7 separate regions of the Homo sapiens genome follow, and all the other regions are linked to region 1. Evidence: promoter capture Hi-C in 16 types of primary human blood cells and fetal thymus (Javierre and others, 2016). All regions are on one chromosome and are shown on one strand. The core of a region is centred on a gene start or on the middle of the fragment in contact, and the rest is flanking DNA. Distances in the headings are between cores, read along the strand shown.

Region 1 (2,528 bases), core at 18-2,517:
AAAAAAGGAGGAGAAGAAGAAGAAAAGTAAGGCAGGATGAGGGGTTTATAGATTCAGGAAATGTTTCTAAGCGACCCCCTTCAAGGGAAAGAAAAAAGAAAGAAGAAAGAAAGATAAGAAAGAAAGGGGAAAAGCGGCAGGCGATCGGAACGGAGCCGGCAAGTCTTCCAGAAGCTGGAGGAAATGCGCCCCGGCCTGCCAGGCCTTGGGCCCTTCCGGCCCCCTCCTGCCCTTGTCGGCCCCGAGGCGAGCTCACCTTGCGGGCGCATCCAGGGGAAGAGCTGTGTGGGCGACGGGCTCTGCTCGGAGCCCTCGGCCTCCTCGCCCAGGCCGCTGGCGGCGGCAAGCTTGCAGTCTGCGTACTGCACCAGGTCTGGATCCTGCGCACCGAATAGGCTCTGGCGTTGCAGCGGGTCGTAGCCGTAGAAATTGCCGGGGTCCCCGTGGCACGCCACGGCGCACGGGTTCTGCTGGTAGGGAGCCGTGGACAGCGACGACGGCCCGTGGTAGAACTCCTGGATTTGCGACGGGTGCTGGAAGCTGCCGCCGCTGCTGGGACCGTACACCACGGTGGGTCGGCCGCCCAGGTCCTGGGCGAAGCCGCAGTCATAATAATTGGGGCGCAGGGACTCCCCGGTTTTGTATTTGGAGAACAGTGAGTTGACGAAATAAGAGCTCATTTTATTGAATTTTGAGGCGGCGGCGGCGGCGGAGGCTATAGTTGGGGGCTGTTGGGGAGGGGGTGGGGAGGGGGAAAGGGAGGGAGAGAGAGAAAAAAACGCGGATTCGCCGGCTCCTAGTCACCCTCGCCAGGAAAGGAGAGGGAAAGAGAGGAGGGAAAAAAAGAAAAGAAAGAAAAGGCGAAGAAGATCTCGAAGCCGACACACTTTTTGTGGTTTCCAGGAATAGAAAAGGACAGAGAAGCCTCCAAAAGTCTAAGCTTGCATGGCAGCCGCGGCTCGCTCGCCCTCCCCCCACCCCCCACCCCCCAAACAAAAATATACCACCACTTAAAGAGGTCCTCGCTTTACATTTCGAAGAAGGGATGCCAGTTCATAAACAGTTTTCGGTGATTTACTTCCCTGCAAATGAGTTGTTTCATATTTTGCACTGTCTTTTCATGATCATTTGCATCCATTAGAGACCCCGCATCCTATTGGCTTCTTCGTACTCCTCCCGGACAGAACGCAGAGCGAGGGTGAGAGCGAGAGAGAGCGAGCGAGAGAGAGAGCTAGAGCGAGAGAGCGCCAGGGAGTGAGGAGAGAGCGGAAAAAAAAAAAGGAGGGGAAGAAAAAAACACCCAGGGAGAGAGAGGGGGAGAGGGGGAGAGAGAGGGGGAGAGGGAGAGGGGGTGAGAGAGAATGAATACGGATTAAATCTGTTTAACTACCTACATTAATGAGATATCTCTCGCCTCACAACAAATCAAATACCTTCGCAGACCACCCCCAAAGACTGATGTGGGGGAGTCACGGAAAAAAACACGCACACACACATACACAACGCGCCAGGCGTAGGCACGCTGTTAATTTCGCGATTTTAACGAGGCAATTGGAGTCTTTCTAAATGTCAGGGTCGCTTCGGAAAAATGTAAAAGAACACGGTTTAATTGCGCCGAGTTTTAAAAGGTCCTATAAATGTAATTGGTATTTTAATACAAGTTATCAAATCATACAGCTTCCTCTCCTAAACGTATTTTCAAACAAACGAGGTAGTCATATTTAAAGCTTTAATGATCAATTTCCTTATTATTGATAAAGGTTTAACTATCGTGTGGAGGGAATTGGCTGGATAACCGGCCCCCCAAAAAACGGCTGTAAACTCTTTAAGAAACTATAAAACGCAATAAAGCCGGAGTCTGTTGTTGTTTATGCCGCAGCGCATAAAAGCTGTTAGCATTTTACGAGTTCTTTCCTCTACAGCTATAAAACTGCAGCTTCGATCGCCCCCGCCGCCCGATTGCAGCACGGTGGGGGTGACGAAGCCGAAATGAGAATGATTATGGGGATTTTTTTTTGGCACAAACGGTGACTTTTCTGAGATTTTCACCTCCTTCCGTCCTGGCAAGCACCTGCCCCCACCCCTTCTCTGGAGCCCCCAAAAGGTCCCTTCTCTGCCCTGCCCTCTCTGCCCTGCCCTGGCCAGTCACAAAACTTCCTCTCATTAAACAAATAAGCAAAAATTTTCTGTGAAACAGGGATCTGGGAGATCTTGAGGAGGGAACGGGAGGGAAGAAGAAACTTTCTGGTTAATGAGCAGTGGTTGAAGCACAGAGCAAAGTTCGAGCTGCCACTGCCGATTCTGCAGGTTTGTGCACTCTCTGCTTGCTGAAAAGGGGGTCTCCTGAAGGCCCTTCAGCCCATCAGCACTTTTGAGGGCAGACTTTGCATGAAGGGAGAGGGCCTGATGCCATCAGAGGGATGAAGCCCCAATGGGCTACCCGACACTTGCACCCAGGCCTTGGGACCCAGTAGCCAAGCCCAATTATTAATAGCTCCCAACCTTCCCAGGCCGACCCCCACACCTTC
Region 2 (2,528 bases), core at 15-2,514, 780 kb before region 1:
AAGCCCTGAGACAAAGTGACCACTTAATCCTCAACACAAGGGCCAAGACTAGAACTTCCCACTTTCAGTCATTTCCAAGACTGGGATGTGACCTCAGAAAAAGGTCCAGATAGAAGGCGGCTCTAACAGTCAGAGAGTATGGATATTTGCTGGGGTAAGAGGTCTTATTGCCAGCAGCCACAAAACCTAACTGTTAAGACTGCAGGCAGGCTTTGGAATCAAATTAAACTGGATTTTTTTTTTTTTTGAGATGGAGTCTCGCTCTGTTGCCCAGGCTGGAGTGCAGCAATGCGATCTCGGCCCACTGCAACCTCTGCCTCCTGGGTGTAAGCGATTCTCACGCCTCAGCCTCCTGAGTAGCGGGGACTACAGGCACGCGCCACCACACCCGGCTCATTTTTGTATTTTTAGTAGAGTTGGGGTTTCGCCATGTTGGCCAAGCTGGTCTCAAATTCTTGACCTCAGGTGTTCCCTCCGCCTCAGCCTCCCAAAGTGCTGGGATTACAAGCGTGAGCCACCGCGCCCAGCCGAAACTGGATTTTAATCTCTCTTCCGCCAATTACTAGCTGTGACCTTGGCCACCCAACTGGTCTGAACTTCAGTTGCTGCGTCTGTAAAGAGGAGATGCGAATGTCTTTCTCACAGGGTGCTTTAGATTTAAATGATTTAAAAGATTTAAATGAGCTAACACATATAAAAATAGTTATCACAGTGCCTGGCCTATATTAAGTGCTCAAATCCATTCACTAAACAAATATCTACCGCACGCTTACTAACATCCAGCACCATGCCACCTGCTGGCTATGCTGAATGAACATGGTTCTGCCCTTGCGGAGTTTAATAGAGGAAACAAGCAACTAAACAAATGCAAAATTACAGATTGCGACGGGGCTAAGGAGTCAAGGGAAGACCTGAGGTGACATTTAGACTGACACATTAAGATGGAGACATAATGCAAAGGTCTGGGCGAGGAGTGGTCCAGGCAAAAGAAACGCTGGAGACAGACAACATCTGGACGTTGTTGCTGTGATTACCAGTCGAGTCACAAGGAACTGGACGGGGTAAGGAGGCCAGCGATCTAGCTGGGGTCAGAGATTATGGGAAGAATCAGTAGTAGAGGAGGGCAGATGAGGACTAGAGAGCGGCCGCAAGACACGCCGTGAGGACCTGGGCCACTCCTTACCCGCCTGGGGCAGGAGACCCCCTCGCAGCATCCCCGCCACGGCCGCAGCCATCTCCACCGGAAGAATGGACGGAAGCCGAGTGGAGACGGAAAGAGCTAAGGATTGTGGGGTAGCGAACCCCGGGGCCGGAAGCAGTGGGCGTACCCGCCGGCTGTAGCCGTAAGACGCATGCGCTAGGCCGGGCCAACGGAGCCCGCCTTTACCTCCCCACTCGGCGTCCAGTCTCTTAGCAACGACTCCGGCTTCCTAGGAACTGCTCCTTTCTCAACCATTCCTGCCCACAACACCCCAGCTTGCTGCCAGCAAAGCCCCTCCACACCCCTCAAACTCCAGACCCTTCACATCAATTTACTGTTTTCTTCGACCTCACCCCAGCAATTTTCTCTGAATCAACCCCCTTTCCTCCTCTCCTAAGTCTCTGAGTTTCTCTCTCCTCCTGCCATCCTGAGTTCTGCCATCCTTAGGGGCCGCCAAGACCTCTCTTTTCGTTCCTCTCCCGCCTCAGACCAGCAGCCTTTTATTTTAGATCATGTCTGGAGGTGAGTAGGGAGGTGGGACGGTGGGTAGAGCAGTTGGAAAACAGCGGGGTAAGGCCTCCAAGAGTGAGGAAGTGTCACAGTTGGACTCATCTTTTCACAGGGAAGTCAGCCCAGGGTCCAGAGGAAGGGGGCGTCTGCATCACTGAAGCCCTTATCACTAAGCGGAACTTGACTTTCCCTGAAGATGGGGAACTGTCAGAGAAGATGTGAGTGCATGGGGGAGAAAAGGGGTGCTAGAAGGCTGAAACACTCAGGATGACCAGGTCCCTGACGTGTACTGATTTGTCAACTGATCTTTGTTTCTCTCCTTACTCCACACATTCAATCAGTGGTAATGCCCAGCTGATTTTCCCTTCTTCAAAATAATTCCATTTCTTTTTCACCATCCTCACTCAACTGTCTTAGATAAGGCCGTGTTCACCTCTCTCCTACACACCCACCACTTTGGGAGGCTGAGGCAGGAGGATCACTTGAGCCCAGGAGTTTGAGACCAGCCTGGGCAATAGAGACAGAATCCTATCTCTAAAAAATAAAAATAAACTAGCTGAGCATGGTGGTGCACACCTGTAGTCCTAGGTGGCTGAGACAGGAGGATCACTTGAACCCAGGTACCTGTGGCTGCAGTAAGCTATGATCATGCCATTGCATGCCAGCCTGGGCAACAGGGTGAGACCCTATTTCTAAAACAAACAAAAAGTAAAGTATTTTTAATTACTTTTTTAGAGATGGGGTCTTGCTCTGTTGGCCAGACTGGTCTTGAACTCCTCAAACAATCCTCCCACTTCAGCCTCCTGAGTAGCCAAAG
Region 3 (2,528 bases), core at 21-2,520, 670 kb before region 1:
CACAGCCTGGAAAGGCTATGCACAGCCACCTGCTCAGTGTACTCTCAGTTGGCAATTGCTTGCATTGACCTAGGGGCTAGACTCCTACTACCTAGCATGGGCAAAATGTGGAAAAAGGGAAGCTTGACAAAGATTGGGGAGACCCTGGAGAAATGGGACATTGGCAGCCTTGCTATCTACCAGGACACTGGCTCCTATGAACTCCAGTGCACCATGGCAGGGGAAACCATGAGCAAAGGGAGTAAAATGCTCTGACCCTTGCTTAAATAAATGAGGCTGGAGGGAAGGGGTTTAAAACTAGAAGAGGTGGCGGGCGCGGTGGCTCACGCCTATAATCCCGGCACTTTGGGAGGCCAAGGCGGGTAGATCACTTGAGATCAGGAGTTTGAGACTAGCCTGGCCAACATGGTGAAACACCGTCTCTACTAAAAATACAAAACTTAGCCGGGCGTGGTGGCGGGCGCCTGTAATCCCAGCTACCCGGGAGGCTGAGGCAGAGAATTGCTTGAACCCGGGAGGTGGAGGTTGCAGTGAGCCGAGATCGCGCCACTGCACTCCAACCTGAGCGACAGAGCTAGTCTCCGTCTCAAACAAAACAAAACAAAACCAAAACTAGAAGAGGAAAACCACTCTGGTCTGGGATACCTTGGTCCCAAATTTCCTTCTTCCCCCTTCCCATTCAGCCATCTTCCTTCTCACCTCACCGTCTCTTCCTCACCCCACTGCACCTCCCCACTCGGGGCATGGTCCACAAGTCATTTCAACCTCTCCCACTCTCATGCCCTAATTTCTCCCCACAACCAGATTACCCTTTTCTCTATGTGTCCCCATCACCTTGCCTCAGAGTCTGGCCCCTAATTCCATTTTCCATTTTTCTTTTCCCATTCCACTAGTCTCCCTTCCCAGGGGGTACTTCCTGCCCTAAGCTCACCTACAGGCACCTACTATGGGCCAGCCACTTAATACTGACTACTCCCCTCAAGCCCCCGGGACACATCCTCCGCCCCGCCTGAGCTGCAAGAGATCCTCCTATACCTTTAACCAACCTCCACGTGCGTGTTAACCGCGGTGACAGCATTTCCTTGTCTCTCTGCTCCCGCCCCCAAAGGCGCTACCCATTGGCCGCTGGGTTCCTCTGTTCTCGCTCTAATTGGCCTCGTTACCGAAAAGCTCCAACCAATGACCTCTCCGTGTCTGTCTCCCTCCTCCGATCCTGGAAACTCATTGGCTCCGAGGACTTAGGACCTGTTAGCTTGGTTGGGCGACTGGCAAATCCTTCCTTCCCCGGGGTAGAAGTCCAGGGTGAGAAATTGGTTCCGAACTCAAAGGAACCCAGTGCCGGGCCACAGCCGGGTCACGTGGCCGGCGGCCCCCCATGACGTGCTGGCTGCGGGGCGTCACGGCGACGTTCGGGCGACCTGCCGAGTGGCCAGGCTACCTCAGTCACCTGTGTGGTCGCAGTGCTGCCATGGACCTGGGACCCATGCGCAAGAGTTACCGCGGGGACCGAGAGGTGCCGCCGCTAGGGCCAGGCCTCCTGCAGGGGCGGGGGAAAAGGGGTCCCCGGAGTCATCTACAGCGGGGAGGGGAGTAGTAGGAGCCCCTCGGGGCTTCTGGGGCCACCCGGTGGGGCAAGGAGGTTTGAGGATCACCCCCCGTGGGAAAAGGGGGCTTCAAAGACATCCCACCAGGGGAGGAGTTCCGGGGAAACGCAAATGAAGATGGGTTCAAAAGGCAGCCTTTCGTAATGGGTAAGAGCTCGAACTTTGGAGCCTGCCTGGGTTGGAATGTTTAATGTATCTGGGCCTCAGTTTCCTCATCTGGGAAGTGATAGTATCTGCCTCACGGGGATGTTATGGTCTAAGATGTTTGTAAAGTGCTTAGAACCCTGCTACTCGACAGGTAGCAAGGTCAAATAACTTGCTCAGTCCCACAGCTAGTGATGAATGAATCGGGGTTTCATGTGATGGATGTCAGGACTGTGCTGGGCCTCCCTCAAGGGCGGGGGAAGAGGGGTCCTCGGAGTCATCTACTGGGGGGAGGGGAGTAGGAGGAAACAGCCCCTCAGGGCTTCTGGGGCCACCCCCTGGGGCAAGGAGATTTGGGGGTCACCCAAACCTCCTTGTGCCAGGTGGGCATGGTCATGGGCCCCTCTTTAGGTGGGTACAGTGACAAACAGCTTACAAACTGTTTGACAAAAAAGTAAGTGGAATATGGGGGAAGGGGACTAGCTCGGGGAGGAGGGGAGGAGAAAGCTCTTAGCTTACTGCCTTCAGTACTTTCTGCTGACCACTGGGAAGTTCTTTTCCTTTTCGCTCCTCAGGAGGGGAACCAAGAGAACCTTTTAGGAATTGGGGTCCAGGGCCCTGGTTGCCAAATCTGGTTGCATGTGGGCATTTCTAGAAACGCTTGTTTAAAATGCAGTTTTTCCAGCCTGGGCAACATAGTGAGACCCTGTCTCTACAAAAAATTAAAATTAGTCGAGCATGTTGGAGCGTGCCTGTAATTCCAGCTACTTGGGAGGATGA
Region 4 (2,528 bases), core at 13-2,512, 660 kb before region 1:
AATTAGCCGACTATTCTTTGTTTTACAAAATAACCCAGCTGTAGGATCTGTAAATAGTCATCATAAAAGATAGTGTAAAATCTGATTTGCTTTAAAAACAAGCAAACAAAAAAGGTGATGTGATATCCAAACTTCCCAGTTTCTCAAAGTTGCAAAGAACAAGATATCTACAACCGCCTGCCTGTGCCTCACCACAGAGGGCTGAAAGGGGTTGGGGGAGTGGGGGCAGGTGCTTGGGACTTCAAACAGACCCAGCATTTAGTGACACATGGTGGGCCCTGCAGTTAGCTCGTGCAGGTTCCTGAGCTGGCCGAGCTAAGGGCTGGGCCCTTGCCCTGGGGCCTTGCAATCCAGGGATGATGGAAATCAGCCCCTGAGGATGCCAGCTTCACCTCTGCTGTTTGCACAGCTTTGGGGCCATGAAAGGCCTCATGGGACAGCCTGCCACCCCCTGTCTTTGGTGGCCAGCGCTATAGCATGCACATGGGTGTCCCAGGAGAGGCCCCTCCATACCAGCTGGGTTCTGTGAGCTGCTCTGAAGGGCTTTGCCCAGACTGAGCCAGGCCCCTCCTGAGCTGGGTCAAGTTAACCATTGACTGGGGCAGAGGTGGAGGGGCAGGGGGACAGATAGGGGAAGCAAGTCAGCTAATATGTTGTAAGACAAAACCCCAGAACTCCCTCCCCCATCCCTCTGCAGGGCCCCAATGGCACTTAGGGGGCCTGCAGGATGAGACAGGGGTACCCTGGATAGGAATGGGGAGATGTTCCTACCAGACAGCTGGAAAAATGCTCCAGACTGGGGGGTCAGAAGGGTGGGCTCCAGTTCAGCAAGGGTTAACAGAAAACTACTCAGCAGGAGCTCTGTTGGAGGCCTGGATTGACTCCAAGAGGCCAGTGGGATGAGTCTTGAGTGGAGACCAGGTTAGAGGCCTGGGTTCCTCTTTCCTGCTGGGCTTGTCAGCCCTGGAGGCAGAACCAGGTGCTCTGACTGGGGTCTATGCCTTGGTTTCCCCACCCACCAGCCCTCTGCCTGTACCTGTAATCCCGACTGCTCCAGGCTGGAGGTGAGACCTTTCCTAGAGAAGCAGTTGAGTGTAGGAGCTGCCTGGGAGGGTGAGACTCGGGAAGCAAGTGGTGCCTCCGGGCTGCTGTATCAGGCAAGGCTCAGCCAGGAGAGGTGGGTAGGAGCAGCTGCACGTCAGGTGCAAGAGAAACAGGTGCAAGAGCTGTTACCTGCTCTGCTGCAGCTCCTGGAGTCAAGGTGAACCTGAAACCCAGCCCCTCCCGGCTAAGTAAACAGAAGCAGAGGCCGGCTCAAGCTGATGAATATTCATCATGCCAGAAATCCAATCCCAGCGCCCCTGCATCCACCCAGAAGCCAGGGTTCTCCAGGGACCGCCACGCAGGAGGAGGGAATCCCAAGGGAGATCTGGGGTCAGGGAGCACAGGAGGCTCTCGCTCAGTTTCCCCACTCTTGGGTGTCTGGTTGCACTTCCCAGCTATAGCCAGGGTCACCCCACCCATTTCATCTTCTGAGGAGGCGCAGACCCCTCTCCAGCATGGACCACCACCTGGATGTTGCCCAGGGCACAACCAGGAAAGAGTTAAGGGCTGCTGCTTCCATTGGCAGGCTGGGTAGGACGGGGTGCACCCCAGCTTCCTTTGAACTCCCTGAGTCGAAACCAGTCCCGGTTAAACTGGTTGGCAGACCGGTTCCCAGGCTGTCCCTCCCCTGCCTCAAGCCTCAAAGTGGGGACTGGGTTGGGGGCTGTGGCTTCCTCCTGACCTGAAGAGCCCCTCTTCAAAAATCTCCCTAGGGAGAAAAAAAAAAAGGGCACAGCCTCTCCTCGGGCCAGGCTCTCCAGACCCACCACAACCTCAAACATTGTCATCCCTCTCCCACTTTGCTTGGAGGTGGGCTTCAAGGCCCTTGAGATCTTATGCAGAATTCCGTGTTTGTGGGCAGAGGGGCATTGCTTTTTCTGCATAGATTATACTTTTATCAGACTCTCAAAGAGACCTGTGCCAGTGTCCCCACTAGCAAAGTGCCACTGGCTTCAACTCCTCCCAGATGTCCAGCAGTCTATTGAAAGGGCCTTCCTGGGTATTATAAAGTTGGCAAAACCTGGAGCAAGTTCTCAAGGAAAGGAGAGATGGGTCCCTAGTGAGTCTGGAAGAGAAGGAAGGGCAAGAAGGCAGGGGATGGGCACACGGTTGGGGACAGGGGTAGAGTGTGTGTGCACAGGGGCCTTCGTCCTCACCGATCTGCAGTCTCATTGCCCCTGCAAACCCACCATTGGCCAAGCTGTGTGCAGCGCTCAGCCAGGGCTGCTCTTGCAGATGGCTCCGTGTCTGGGGAGCGTTGTTTTGCAGCCACCCGGAGGTGGCCTGTCCTATTTGCGCTTGCATTCTCTCTCCCCTCGGATGGGCATCGCTGGAGAGTGGAAAACATCTGCTACATACTCAGTGTCTCTGCCACTTCCTGGGCCCAGTGCTACCAGCTTAGGTGCCCAATCCACCCACCAGCT
Region 5 (2,528 bases), core at 14-2,513, 640 kb before region 1:
TGTCTTCCTCTGACCCCGTCTGACCCCTCAGCCTGGTTGCACCCCCTTTGGGCCAGTGTCTTACTTTTCTTCGGTCTTTGGATGTTTTCTTCAATCTGTTGGACTCCACCTCTTCTCCCCTCTCTAGGGCGAAAATGTCCGAGGAGAACTGCTGGCCCTGGTGAAGGACCTGCCGAGTCAGCTGGCTGAGATTGGGGCAGCGGCTCAGCAGTCCCTGGGGGAAGCCATTGACGTGTACCAGGCGTCTGTGGGGTTTGTGTGTGAGAGGTAGAGAGGCCTCAGCTTCTCCTGGTGGGGGTGCTTTGCCTGTGTTCCCCAGCTCATGACCCTTCTCCAGTTGTCTTGTTCCCATATAACATTTGAACTCTTTACACACCTGAACCTGTGGGGGCCTTGCCCATTTGACCATGTGGCCCAGGCCAAAGCCCAGTGTTGGCCTTACGCATGGTCGGCAGGAGAGTCAGTTGTGTGCTCTGTTGAAGCCCCACAGAGCAGGTGTTGCCAATGCTGCGGTTCGTGCAGAAGCGGGGAAACTCAACGGTGTACGAGTGGAGGACAGGGACAGAGCCCTCTGTGGTGGAACGACCCCACCTCGAGGAGCTTCCTGAGCAGGTGGCAGAAGATGCGGTAAGATGGGCCTTGTGATGAGCTGTAGGAGTGGAGTGGGAGCTGCTTGTCCCCTCCCCACCCCCAACAGCCCAACCCAAGACCCAGAGAGAAGAAGGGAGGATTTCTGTGAGAGTGACTGTAGGTAGAAGGGCCCAGGAGGCCCTACTCCTTTATTTTTCTGAGTATAGGTGAGTGAGTGCCACAGAGGCTTTGCAAGGTGGTTCGCTTTGAACTCGGAACCTCCATCATGTGAGCTCTCTGAAGATGGGCTTTCTTTGGGGTAGCTTAGAGGCCACTGCATTTGAACAGTGTGCTCTCTACAGAAGCAGCTGAGGCCTGTGGGAAGGCAGCCCCACCCTCCTTTTTAAATTAATTTATTTTTGAGACTGGGCCTTGCTCTGTTGCCCAGGCTGGAGTGCAGTGGCATGATCCTTGCTGACTGCAACCTCTGCCTCTCAGCCTCAAGCGATCCTCCCAAGTCAGCCTCCAAGATAGCTGGGATTACAGGTTTGCACCACCACTCCTAGCTAATTTTTTATTAACATCTTTGTAGGGACAGGATTTTGCCATATTGCCCAGGCTGGTCTCAAACTCCTGGGCTCAAGCAATCCACTATCCTCGGCCTCCCAAAGTACTGGGGTTACAGACATGAGCCACCATGCCCGGCCCTTTTTAAATCCATCTTCCATGAGCTAACACTCTCTTTCCCTTTCCAGATTGACTGGGGCGACTTTGGGGTAGAGGCAGTGTCTGAGGGGACTGACTCTGGCATCTCTGCCGAGGCTGCTGGAATCGACTGGGGCATCTTCCCGGAATCAGATTCAAAGGTGAGGAGGCCTTCTCAGTCTGTCTCTCTCTGATCACTACTCTAACCATAAGAAAAGTGTCATTTGTGTCTGTAACGGCATCACTTGAAGTTCATAGCTCTAAGACCAGGTATAGTCCAAGGGAGGCAGAGTTTCACACGTCACATGTCAGAGTTTTGTTTTGTTTTTTGAGACAGAGTCTCATTCTGTCGCCCAGGCTGGAGTGCAGTGGTGCAATCTCGGCTCACTGCAACTTCCGCCTCCCAGGTTCAAGTGATTCTCCTGCCTCAGCCTCCCAAGTAGCTGTGATTATAGGCGCCCACCACCACACCCCTCTAATTTTTTATTTTGTTTGTTTGTTTGTTGAGACAGAGTCTCACTCTGTCGCCCAGGCTGGAGTGCAGTGGCATCATCTTGGCTCACTGCAACCTCTGCCTCCCGGGTTCACGCCATTCTCCTGCCTCAGCCTCCTGAGTAGCTGGGACTACAGGCGCCCGCCACCACGCCCGGCTAATTGTTTTGTATTTTTAGTAGAGATGGGGTTTCACCATGTTAGCCAGATGGTCTCGATCTCCTGACCTCGTGATCCGCCCGCCTCAGCCTCCCAAAGTGCTGGGATTACAGGCGTGAGCCACCGCGCCCGGCTAATTTTTGTATTTTTAATAGAGACAGGGTTTCGCCGTGTTGGCCATGCTGGTAACTCCTGACCTCAGGTGATCCACCTGCCTCGGCCTCCTGAGGTGCTGGGATTACAAGCGTGAGCCACTGCGCCCAGCCCATGTGAGAGTTAAATTTTGATGTCCTTTTTCTTGGTGTTTGGTACAGGGTGTAGGGGTAAAGGCAGGTGGGAACACTACAGAGCAGGGATGATGGGCCATACTGCCATTTTTGGCACCTAAGTCAGGGCTGCAAATCCTTAATAGAGTTGGAATGTGCAGCCATTGACCTCATCAAGGGCTTTGGTTTATTCTGGCTCCTTGGCTCAGGAAAATTCTCCCCCCATTGCTGTGGTTCTTTGCTCTCCTTCCAGGATCCTGGAGGTGATGGGATAGACTGGGGAGACGATGCTGTTGCTTTGCAGATCACAGTGCTGGAAGCAGGAACCCAGGGTAA
Region 6 (2,528 bases), core at 19-2,518, 610 kb before region 1:
GTAATCCCAGCATTTTGGGAGGCCGAGGCAGGCGGATCCCTTGAGCCCAGGGATTTGAGACCAACCTAGGCAACATAGCAAAACCCCATCTCTACAATAAAATAAAATAAAATAAAATAAATAGCTGGGTGTGGTGGCGTGTGCCTGTAATCCCAGCTACTCAGGAGGCTGAGGCAAGAGAATTGCTTTAGCCTGGGAGGTGGAGGGTGCAGTGAGTGGTGTTTGTACCACTGCTTTCCAGCATGTAGCAAGAGAGTGAGACTCAACTGGAAGGAAGGAAGGAAGGAAGGGAGGGAGGGGAAAGAAGGAAAGGAGTGCTAATTTGCGGACTTAGGATAAGTAGCAGTTAGTCCAAGGATGTGGAAGGGAGGGTGGAGAGCAAAGATCCTGGCAGAAAGACCAGCATATGTGGGGCTGAAGGCAAAAAAACAGAGAATGCTTGACAAACTGAGTGAAAATTCATACAGTCGGGCACTCTGCCTCACAAATCCTTCTGTCATTTCTACAGTTCTCCCAGAAACCCCTTGAAACTCGCCTGTGACTCTCTAGGCTCCCTGGAGTCCAGAGCAAGACAAAGAACTTTTGTCTGATCAGCTGAGATATAATGAGAATGACCCCCAGGTTCCTTATTTATGCATCCGGCATGCAGCTTGCTTTTGTAAGAATAGCACTGTATTGCTGACTCATAGTCAGCCATGCATTTTACAATAATCCCACAATGTCTGCCCTGGATTTTCTTTCTGCCTAACTTCCTGTTCAGCCTTCTTTTAAAAAGCCTTGCCTCTGTGCTCTCTTTTTACTTATCTCTTTCTTTGAAATGGATCACGTCTAGAATTTGTGGGTTTCAGGGAAATCTGCCATCCCAAGGGTCCTTCTCCAATGAAATTAAGGTCAAATTGAGATTTGGAATTGAAAGCTGATTAGTCTGAATGCCCACATCTTAGAGCATCTAACCAATCTATCTGCCCATCAGGGTGACTGATCCCATCCCTGTCTTATTTGCTGCTGTGGGGGTGAGGGCAGGGGGTGGAGAAGGATGGAAGCAGAGTCAGCGCCAGACAGTGATGTGCCACGCAGAATAGAATCTCTGCACAGCGTCTCCTGGAAGGGGGAGGGGGGCAGATGCTGACAGACTCGTGGGAGCCATGCCAAGAGATGGGTCTGCCTGGGTCCCTGACTAAACCAACTAACTCTTCCCAAGCTGATCAGGCTGCAGGGCCAGAGCCCCACTATTCTTCCCTGGGATCCCAAGTGAAGCAATGGGGGCCACGTAGGAATTCATCGGTCAATGCTAGTTTGGTGGGTGAGGGTGGGGAGGTTGGGGAGGAGCAGGCGCGGGGGTGGGTGTGCTTGGATTCGCTCATGGGAGCTGAGCCAGCCCCAGCAGGGAAGAAGGGTCGCTTTGGCATTCATTCTCCTGCAGTTACCAGGCCTCGCCGCCTGCCGGGCTGCTGGTGCGCAGGGCCCAGCCCCCTCCCCAAAGAGCCCCTGAGAGGGGCCAGGAGTGGGGGGAAGGCCACCCGTGGCCTTGTGAGACTGAAGCACAAGCTCCTTCCTCAGCTGCCAGGGAAGAATTTAATTACCAATTAAAGCCCCCTCCATCTGTTTCGGGCCTGCCAGAGAGCTCTCTCTACCCTTTAATTACATCTCTGACAACAATTTAACTCAATTAGCTGGTAAACACAGCAGAATGCAGGCAACCCAGGGCACCCTCTTGTCCCTGCCATCTGTCTGTCCGTCTTGTGCTTTCCCAACTCGCTCTCAGTCTGTCTGTCCTGCCCCTGCTTCCCTGTCTCATTTTGACACCGCCCCCCACCCCTTGGTTTTCTCTTTTTCTTCTGTCTTCTCCAGCACCTCTTGTCTGTTTCACACCAGCTGGGTTTCCCCCGCCCTCCGCGTCTTTGTCATTCTGTCTTCCTCTCCCATCTGCTCTTTGTCCATCCCTTTCCCGTGCTCTGTCTTGTTCTGTGCATCCCAACTTTCTCTCTTACTCTGCCAGGCTAGTCTCCAATGAGCCTTTTCCTTCCCCTTTCCTTCTCCCCGTCTTCTTCCTCCTTCTCCGCCATCTGTCCTACATTAACCAAATCCATCCCTTTCAGCATCTCCTCTGTGAGCCTCCTTTCTGGTGTGTTTCCCTTAACCCCTGCCATCTCCTTTTGCTTCATCCACTTAGCACAAACAAAGGTGAGCCCTAGGAGCAGTAGTTGCCATCTTTTGAGCACTTACTTTGCCAGTCATTGGCTAAGAGCTTTACATGCATTATTTTGTTGAATTTTTACAAAAATTGTGTGAATGGGTATAATTATTCCCATTTCACAAGTGGAATAATGGATCCTCTGAGAGATTTTGCCACTTATCCAAGGTCACAGAGCTTGCAACTGATAGAACTAGGATTCAAAGCCAGGTCTGTTTCCTTCAATACTGCATGAGATACCCGAGGCTGGGCACAGTAGCTCATGCCTGTAATCCCAGCACTTTGGGAGGCCAAGGTGGGCAGATAGCTTGAGCCCAGGAGTTCGAGACCAGAC
Region 7 (2,528 bases), core at 29-2,528, 570 kb before region 1:
GCAGGCCATGCAGACATCTGAGGAAGCATCTACTGACCCTCCCTATATGATGACTTAGAAGGCACATCTGAACCTTTCTTGCAGGCTATCAGTTATAATAGGGAACATAATGACACTATTTGATAACAGCAGCCAGGGAAAAGACCCAGCATTTGGGCATTTTATTTCTTCGGATTCCAGATCATCAGAAGTTATGTCAATGGTCATGCTGGCTGGGTATGTTATTTCTAAAAAATACTGATTTGGTTATTTTGATGTCTTAATATTTCTGTGAGCTAGTCCATTTTTTTTTTTTTTTTGGCTCATATTTACAAGGACAGCACCAAAAAGCCTCCAGGAGCATTTCTCAGCCTCTGTTTGGCTATGGTACCCACTATGAAAGACCAGCAGCCTCCAGAAGGGACAGAGGAAGACCTGGGAAGATAGGGGACTTAGGGGGCTGGCTCCATAGGGGAGGTGGGGAAGGAGTCAGTTATACACGTTAGGGATGGGAAGGCACTGGAGAGGGGCCAAGGGGATAGGAATGAGAGAAGGCTGGGGAAGGAAGCTTAGGAACCACAAAGTTCTCATCACCCCCACATCTATCACTGTTGTTGCTTTTTCTTTTTCTTTTTTTCTTTTTTTTGAGAAGGAGTTTCACTCTTGTTGCCCAGGCTGGAGTGCAATGGGGTGATATTGGCTCACTGCAATCTCCGCCTCCCAGGTTCAGGCGATTCTCCTGTCTCAGTCTCCTGAGTAGCTGGGATTACAGGTATGCGCCACCACACCCAGCTAATTTTTTTTATTTTTAGTAGAGACAGGGTTTCACTATGTTGTTTGGCTGGTCTTGAACTCCTGACCTCAGGTGATCCGCCTGCCTTGGCCTCCCAAAGTGCTGGGATTACAGGCGTGAACCACCGCGCCTGGCCTTGTTGTTCCTCTTCTTAAAATCTCTTTACATCTTTTCTTTTTTTTGAAATGGAGTCTCACTCTGTCGCCCAGGCTGGAGTGCAGTAGCACGATCTCGGCTCACTGCAACCTCTGCCTCCCGGGTTCAAGCAATTCTCCTGCCTCAGCCTCCCAAGTAGCAGGGATTACAGGTGCGTGCCACCATGCCCGGCTAATTTTTGTATTTTTAGTAGAGACGGGGTTTCACCATGTTAGCCAGGTTGTTCTCCAACTCCTGACCTTAAGTGATCTGCCCACCTTGGCCTCCCAAAGTGCTGGGATTATAGGCGTAAGCCACCGTGCCTGGCCCATAAAATCTCTTTACATCTTAGTTTAGTGGTGAATAAGTAAATTCAGAGCCAAGTTCAACTTTTCAAGGACAAGATTCTCCCCAATGATAACCCCTCCCCAAACTCCTTCAACAGAGACCCCAGAACTTCTTTCTCTCCATGACAACCGCTTCCCCACACATCCTGAAGTGCACCTTTAATGCAGTTTCACATAAACATGTGAGCTATGTGTGTCCAGTATTGGGACAGTGTCTTCCACAGAGCATGGCCCTAAGAGGACTTTCCAGTTTAAGGCTGGCAGCACATGAGAAGCATGCACGTGCAGCAGCAGACTCGGCAGGAGAGCCTCCCCAGCTCGAGGAAGCCAAGTTGGGTTCAAAAAGAATGCAGCCTTCATGTTTCTCTGCCCTCTACTCCCTTCGGGTAGGCACAGTAGGATGGAGAGGTGGGCTGTGCACATCCCTACCCAGCTGGAACCTGTGAAGTAGTGCACTCAGAATTGGTCCCTGCCCTTTGGAGTCCCAGGAGGCAGGTGATTCAAAGCAGGTTCTCCTCTGGGCCTTGGTATAGCTTGAAGGGGAGACCATTTCATTTCCTCTGAGTCACCCTCCTGCTGCCACATTTCTGTGCTGTCTGTCCTAGGATTTCAGCATCTGTTCTTATGTGACGAGAAGAAACAGCTCCCTTGGGTACCAGCCTCTCTCTATCCCTCCTGCTTAATGTCAAGAGGGGGAGGTGTGTGTGGAATATGAGGCGTGGAAGTGTGTACTGGTGGCATCCTCTAGAGAAAACTAAAGCTTCCATGCTCTGTCTGTAGGATGGGTTTCTAGTAGACCATTCTAAGGACAGCTCTCATTTCTTCATCGCCTTTGGCTTTCTCTGAGATAAAGTTGTAGGGTGGGTGGAGAGAGGATTATTCAAGACAGGGCCTTATACTCAGCTCTTCCTCCAGGCATGAATGGCTTTATACACATGACCTGATTTTTAAGATTTATGAATATGTACATTGTTATCTCCATTTAGCTCGGGATGGCCCAACTAGTAAGAAACAGAGCCAGATTTTCGAACCCACCTATGAGTCCAAAACATCCACTCCTCCTACCTCTTAATGGCAGCTCCTTGAGTGTGACATGTCACACAGAGCTATATGAAGAACACTACCTGGTATTGTTTGAGACAACATAGCAAGACATACAGGACAGTTGAACTCAGCTTCAAAAAATGTTACACTAAGACACTAATGAACAATGAGGCATTTTCATTGTAGAGGTGAAGAAAGAACATTTTAGGGTTGAGAATGAGCACACCCTA

Evidence for each region. Contacts are between HindIII fragments. The CHiCAGO score rates a contact against its expected background, and 5 or more counts as called.
Region 2: the fragment with the promoter of MRPL10 here is called in contact with the fragment with the promoter of HOXB8 in region 1 in 8 of 17 cell types (activated CD4 T cells, total CD8 T cells, neutrophils and 5 more); the score reaches 10.9 in activated CD4 T cells.
Region 3: a contact is called between the fragment with the promoter of PNPO here and the fragment with the promoter of HOXB8 in region 1, in 5 of 17 cell types (neutrophils, naive CD4 T cells, total CD8 T cells and 2 more). The highest score is 10.1, in neutrophils.
Region 4: a contact is called between the fragment with the promoter of PRR15L here and the fragment with the promoter of HOXB8 in region 1, in 1 of 17 cell types (neutrophils). The highest score is 7.9, in neutrophils.
Region 5: a fragment that was not itself captured here is called in contact with the fragment with the promoter of HOXB8 in region 1 in 1 of 17 cell types (total CD8 T cells); the score reaches 5.4 in total CD8 T cells.
Region 6: a fragment that was not itself captured here is called in contact with the fragment with the promoter of HOXB8 in region 1 in 1 of 17 cell types (neutrophils); the score reaches 5.6 in neutrophils.
Region 7: a fragment that was not itself captured here is called in contact with the fragment with the promoter of HOXB8 in region 1 in 2 of 17 cell types (total CD4 T cells and total CD8 T cells); the score reaches 6.1 in total CD4 T cells.

What each region holds. Positions count from the first base shown.
Region 1 is chr17:48,614,025-48,616,552 of GRCh38, forward strand. HOXB8 (homeobox B8) reads right to left here and starts at 1,268. Exons shown (of 2, transcript NM_024016.4): 1 at 257-1,268. The coding sequence starts at 680. The HindIII fragment of the contact is 787 bases long and covers 939-1,725 here.
Region 2 is chr17:47,830,277-47,832,804 of GRCh38, forward strand. MRPL10 (mitochondrial ribosomal protein L10) reads right to left here and starts at 1,265. Exons shown (of 5, transcript NM_145255.4): 1 at 1,184-1,265. The coding sequence starts at 1,235. LRRC46 (leucine rich repeat containing 46) reads left to right here and starts at 1,394. Exons shown (of 8, transcript NM_033413.4): 1 at 1,394-1,723; 2 at 1,824-1,929. The coding sequence starts at 1,714. RefSeq lists enhancers at 1-678, 679-1,508 and silencers at 971-1,030, 1,271-1,430. The HindIII fragment of the contact is 9,003 bases long and covers 1-2,528 here.
Region 3 is chr17:47,940,301-47,942,828 of GRCh38, forward strand. It overlaps PNPO (pyridoxamine 5'-phosphate oxidase), which reads left to right and starts at 1,271. Exons shown (of 7, transcript NM_018129.4): 1 at 1,271-1,513. The coding sequence starts at 1,376. SP2-AS1 (SP2 antisense RNA 1) reads right to left here and starts at 1,104. Exons shown (of 3, transcript NR_103857.1): 1 at 1,047-1,104. RefSeq lists an enhancer at 1,023-1,317. The HindIII fragment of the contact is 3,059 bases long and covers 121-2,528 here.
Region 4 is chr17:47,956,621-47,959,148 of GRCh38, forward strand. It overlaps PRR15L (proline rich 15 like), which reads right to left and starts at 1,263. Exons shown (of 2, transcript NM_024320.4): 1 at 1,037-1,263. RefSeq lists enhancers at 1-876, 877-1,822. The HindIII fragment of the contact is 8,015 bases long and covers 1-2,528 here.
Region 5 is chr17:47,975,387-47,977,914 of GRCh38, forward strand. It overlaps CDK5RAP3 (CDK5 regulatory subunit associated protein 3), which reads left to right. Exons shown (of 14, transcript NM_176096.3): 7 at 128-267; 8 at 483-627; 9 at 1,326-1,436; 10 at 2,446-2,524. Among named protein-coding and RNA genes, the nearest start is that of CDK5RAP3, 5.5 kb to the left of the region's middle. RefSeq lists an enhancer at 13-513. The HindIII fragment of the contact is 8,194 bases long and covers 1-2,528 here.
Region 6 is chr17:48,002,113-48,004,640 of GRCh38, forward strand. No RefSeq gene overlaps it. Among named protein-coding and RNA genes, the nearest start is that of MIR10226, 30 kb to the right of the region's middle. RefSeq lists an enhancer at 976-1,530 and a silencer at 1,271-1,565. The HindIII fragment of the contact is 5,978 bases long and covers 1-2,528 here.
Region 7 is chr17:48,041,526-48,044,053 of GRCh38, forward strand. It overlaps a transcript of COPZ2 not described here. Among named protein-coding and RNA genes, the nearest start is that of COPZ2, 5.0 kb to the left of the region's middle. The HindIII fragment of the contact is 1,467 bases long and covers 546-2,012 here.